Linked DNA regions of Homo sapiens: region 1 is linked to region 2. The links are contacts of gene promoters, found by promoter capture Hi-C in blood cells and fetal thymus (Javierre and others, 2016). All regions are on one chromosome and are shown on one strand. The core of a region is centred on a gene start or on the middle of the fragment in contact, and the rest is flanking DNA. Distances in the headings are between cores, read along the strand shown. Region 1 overlaps TRG-AS1 (T cell receptor gamma locus antisense RNA 1). Region 2 holds the start of YAE1-DT (YAE1 divergent transcript).

Evidence for each region. Contacts are between HindIII fragments. The CHiCAGO score rates a contact against its expected background, and 5 or more counts as called.
Region 1: a fragment that was not itself captured here is called in contact with the fragment with the promoter of YAE1-DT in region 2 in 1 of 17 cell types (naive CD8 T cells); the score reaches 5.2 in naive CD8 T cells.

What each region holds. Positions count from the first base shown.
Region 1 is chr7:38,378,254-38,380,953 of GRCh38, reverse strand. It overlaps TRG-AS1 (T cell receptor gamma locus antisense RNA 1), which reads right to left. Exons shown (of 4, transcript NR_040085.2): 4 at 2,314-2,700. Among named protein-coding and RNA genes, the nearest start is that of TRG-AS1, 38 kb to the right of the region's middle. The HindIII fragment of the contact is 2,106 bases long and covers 398-2,503 here.
Region 2 is chr7:39,564,937-39,567,636 of GRCh38, reverse strand. It overlaps YAE1-DT (YAE1 divergent transcript), which reads left to right and starts at 1,288. Exons shown (of 3, transcript NR_187579.1): 1 at 1,288-1,494. YAE1 (YAE1 maturation factor of ABCE1) reads right to left here and starts at 1,233. Exons shown (of 3, transcript NM_020192.5): 1 at 1,090-1,233. The coding sequence starts at 1,218. It also overlaps the pseudogene TMX1P1. RefSeq lists an enhancer at 947-1,396. The HindIII fragment of the contact is 5,827 bases long and covers 520-2,700 here.

The sequences.
Region 1 (2,700 bases), core at 201-2,700, 1.2 Mb after region 2:
ACAGCTGCCTTCTGGTTTTTACTTGGAACTCAACTAAAAACCTTACAAACGTGTCAGAACTTGGAGATGAGCAGATCGCACAGCTTTTCTACACAGTGCTGTAGCTACCGTCTTCCTGGTGTGAGACTTTCCTAGGACTTCAGTAAATGGAATCGGACATTTGGTAACAGCACAGAGAAGACAATGACCAATATTCTCTTGGAAGACTTAGAAAATGGAGATCCAGGTGGTTTTGTTCATCTTTGAGCCCTGCAGGTGCATCCCTGTTTGATGATGATCCTGTCCTGAATCACCAGGAGGAGACCGCCTGGATGTTCACGGGCAGCGTTCTTCAAGGCACACAGTAGGGGGTTGATAAGTTGTTCATAAAGCCAAATAAACCATGCGCGAATAAGCTTAATATTCCATCCAAATATTTTGTGACTCATTGGTAATACCTTTTAAGGATCACTTAACAAGCAGCAGCAAATAGTGACTTTTTCCACTTAAAAGATATTTGAGACATAACCCTTACATCTATGCAAATTGAGAGGAAGGCCAGGTAGGTACCCTGAAGCTCTTTCCAAAGAAATCTAAATTTTATCTTTGTTTCCTAAAATCCAGTTAATTCCCAGTCCCCCCGATCTCAGGTCAAACACTCAGGTTGTTTGATTCTTGAGGGTTGGGTCAGAATTGCATGCTTATTTCCCTCCCTGCTGCACTCTGATGCCCTGTAAAACCAGTCCAGCCCAGGAGTGCCTTGTCCATACGCACCTTGCCACATGGCTGATACCCTACACCCTCTCCCACCAGTAAATATTAAACTCTGTGTCATTATGCTCTGCTCTCCAAAACCCTACCAGTGATCACAAAGTGCTGTCTGTGGCATTTGGAGATGCCACCAAACTTCCAATTCTCCCCCAAGATTCCAAGATACGAACTTTCCTTGTTTTCTTACCTCTCTTGTTGTTCCTTCTCTGTTACTGTTCCTAATTTTTTTTCCTCCTTCCTGTGGTTGCTGGAAGTGGGGTGGGGCAATAGCGACCTGTCCTTCAATTTGTGTTCCAGTTGTCCAAGGAATGTTGCCTTTGGAGTGTCCAATTATTGCTTCCAAGTCCACATGTTCATTTGTTCATTAAAATATATCAAGCACCAGCTAAGTGTCAGTTACTGTACATGGGGACCGCATTCATAAGATTTAGACTTCACGCTTGAGGGACTTCCTTCCAAACCCCTCCATGGTGCGTCACTGAGGGGCTCCTCCATTCTTCAGAATCTTGGGCCTGAAGACTTGGGAGCTTCCTTTGTGCATCATTTTCCAGATTTGGGGCACCTGCTATGATTTCCCTGCAAAACATACAACCTTGCACTTTAATCTAGTCGGGGTTCTGTTCTTCACACTGACAGAGAAGACAAATTGGATCCTTGTTGTCTCCCTTGCCACCTGACTTCTTGTCTTCCTCGTACCCTACTGCCCACCCATTTTAAGTACCCAACAGGTCCCCACTCCCTCCTCGCCTCTCCCTCTCAGAAACACATACACAAATGATGAATATCTGCTGCATGTCATACCAGATCCAGGAGCCTCTGCTTGGTCTTCAGAGCTGAACTTCACCTCTTCCCCAGTATTCATCCACTGCCTGCTTCAGAGGCGTCTCCTCAGCACCCCACCCGCCTTCTCCCCCTCAGCTATACACCTTTCTTGCCGTTTTGCAAAACCCCTCTCCTGGGATGCCTTCCCCTCTCCTGTTGGCCTCTAATCCCATCCCCCAGGCGTAGTCCAAGCCCTGTATCCTCAAAATCCCCCGTCCTCTCATCCTTCTACATTCTTTCCACATTTAGAGTAAATATGATACTCCCTAGCCCTTCATTTCCCCTACCAAGAGGCACACTGTCTCCAACCTTCTCTGCATGCTGTATTCACTTCTGGATCTTGTATACTTGTGTGCTGAGTGAACGAACAAGAGGCTGATTGAACGATTAGTTCAGGGAAGTCCAGAAACCCTAATCCCAGGATCAACATGGAATAAAATTTGAAACTGAGTGTGAGAAGAAAATGCAAAATACTTCTGTGATATTGGAGAGGGGAAAGTTTTCTTAAATGAGACTCGGAAACACCCAAAGTATATGGGCAAAAAAAAAAAAAAAAAAAGAGTTTGACTCCAAAATTAAGAATTTATATTTAATGAAAAGATATTTGAGATAGTTAGTTGGTAGACAGATGATAGACTTGCCTAAGATATTTGTACCATCCCAAATTCACAAAGGATAAATGTCTAAAGTACACAAGGATCTCATTCAAGTCAAGAATAAATGAATAATTACTATTATTAGTTTGTTTATATCATTTATATTTATTTATATTTATAATATGGCAATAGTTAATATAATAATAACATTCGTTGACTGTCGTTTGCCATGCATTGCATGTATTATTTTATGTAATCTTTACAAATCTATGAGGTAGTTGCTGTTTTTACTTATTACAGGCAGGGAAGCTAAGATAGAGTTACATGAGGAAGCTTTCTCAAAGTCACACAGTCAATAAATGGCAGGGCCAGGCTGTGCCCCAGGCAGGCTGGCTCTAACATAAGTCCTAACTCCAGCCTCCTTGTTGGTATGTTTAGAGGACATGAAAGGTAATTCACACTTCAGTGAATACTAAGTATAAAAAAGAACCTCAGCTTCCTAATAATCAGACCTGTGCCATTTTTTTTGTTT
Region 2 (2,700 bases), core at 39-2,538:
CAAAAGATTAAAAAAACCAAAAAACAAAAAACAAAACCCAGCATTAGCAATGTCTTCACAAAAAGGATATATGGAAAATTACACATCTGGGCTCTTGCCAACTGATTGGAATGGTGTGGGTGGGTGAGGAGACAGGGCAAAGCAGAGAGAGGAAATTGTTTAAAAAAAAAAGGATGATGAGAAGTCTGGTTTCAGAAATTTTGCATAATACCTAAATTCAACTAACCTGCAAAAGCTCTGTGGGTAGTGATTTCGTTCTGCATCTCTCACGGTGCCACAGCATTTAAAAGATGCTCAATACTTATTAGTGTGGCCCCAGTCTCACATAAAGCATTTTTGTAATTGACAACATGGTTTTTGGGCTAAGCAAATACCACTCTACTGAAATATTAAACAGGGCAGATTCCCAACTGCAGCTTTAGCGGCAATTTAATGGTTGGCAAATATATTAAGTGGATGTGGACCTCACTATTTGGTCCTCACCCAGAAATACTGTAGGCTGCACACAGAAATTAAGCTTAGTTTCAATGAATAGTGAGACAAATTAGAGATGAAAAAGTTACATCTAACAAATAAAAAAGAAACCAACTTTAATATTCCCTTACCTAGACACCAGTATTCCACATTAGCTTTCCCTTATTGTCCTCTGACAGCATGCTTTAGTTCATCTTTTCAATATGTCTTGATTAACACTACTCCTTAACTTTAGGCTCCCTACCCATTCAAGCCACCCATATAAACTGCGTACACGTCCTTTGACAGCCATAATAAGTATAGTGTATGTTTCTCTCCAGCTCCTTTCCCTGTGATCCTCAACAAACTGCAAACTGTTCAAAGTCTACACATAGTTAATTTTGGTCGGTCCTCAGTTTCTAACGCATCCCGTAGGCGCTCAAAGAATGCGTCTTGTTGTTTTACACGCTTTCAAGTAACCATCGAGAAATCCTAGCAAGACGCGGGTCGGACCGGGTCCCTAGGGATAAAGAGAGCAGCGCCGGGCCAGGCTGGGGCCACTCTGGACCCAGCTTCTTCACAACTCCGCGCCTCTTCCCACAACCCAGCACCCCGCGCCGTCCACACCACGTTTACTTTGACTCGTCTTTGCATGTTACTCTGCCATTCCCGCTGCGCCAGGAGCGACTCGTCTGCTTCTTCGTCAAACACGTCCCCTTTGTCTCCAGGGCCCTGGATCAAGGAGGCTGCTTGAACCCACGACATCACCGAGGCAATTACGGGGTCGCAGGCCACCGGAAGCGCCAACAACTCCTTCCGGTCCGAAGGCGGGGCGAAGACGGCGAGTGGAGGCTCGGGAGGGGCTGCGTGTGCGCGGAGGCGGGCTGTGGCCCGTGGCCGCCGCCGGAGCCTTTCGCTTGCGGTGATTTTGGGCTCCCTCGGTTGGCAGTGTTGATGTGTGCCTGTGAGTTGTGAGCGAGGCAGATTTCCTCGCGTGGCCGGCACGACCTTCACCTTTGCAGAAGGCAACCGGGACCCTCAGTGAGACACCTTCCATTTCCACCGTAGTCTTACCATGGTCTGGGTTTTACATTCGCGCGCTTTGGTAAACTATTAAAGGTAGTAAAGTCGATGGGCGATTACCACCCAAATACTTTGTCTCTTTTGGAATCTCCTCTGCATTTAAAGGATTTGACAAGCCGACATTTTAAACTGTTAGGATTGTGGAGTAAAGGAAAATAGGATCGAAAAGCGAGGTACTGTAGCCAATTTGAGATTAGTAAGAAATATAGAGTACATTTGTAAAGCCAATATATTTTTTCATTGATTCACGATATCCTTCTGCCTCCCATTCCTGTTCATATGCCCTAAAGTAAACAGTTGGTTTGGTAAGGGTGGGGACTTGTGTCAACACCAGGACAGTTCTGACACATAGTAAATGCTGAACTCTATTTTGGTGAATGAATGAATACCTGTAGTATTCCTGTTTTGCCCTTTGCCTGGGTAAAATGAGTCATGTGATTATGATTTATTTATCTAACAATTTATTGAACACCTACCTTGTGTCAGGTACCATTCCAGGCTTTGGGATACATCAATGAACAGACGGAAGTTCCCAACCCTTGTCGACTTTATAGTCATGTAAAATTGACAGGATAAACAATAAGCAATATATAAGTAGCATAAGGTTTGTTAGAAGATCATAAATAAATGCTATGAAAAAAATTTTTAAATAAGCACAGTAAGAACCATAAGTGTGTGGGAGTGGGTGGTTGGTTCATGTTACAATTTTAAATCTCCAGAGAGAATTTGGCATCCCACAAATAAAAAATATATAAACTACAAATATGTATATTTTATTAATGTAAATATATTAAGATATATGTATATATCTTTATTAGGAACAAAATGGTAGTAAGCAATAAAGATAACAATAAAATAGAAAACCTCAAAACTTGAATAAGTAAGTCCAATTCTTTTTTGTATTATTTGAAAACACCAATAAGATAGATAATCCTGTCATGACCCAGATTTTTAAAGAGAACAAAATTATACAAGAATGAGAAATGAGATAACCACTGATGCAGAAGGAGATTAAAATATTAATTACCAACTAAAACTCAAAAGCAACACATTCGAAAACCTGAGAGATATGAATGACTTTCTAAGAAAATTGACCCAAGAAGTAGGGTCATGAAGAGACTAATTACCATAGAAAAATTGGACATTAAATATCTACTATTAAAA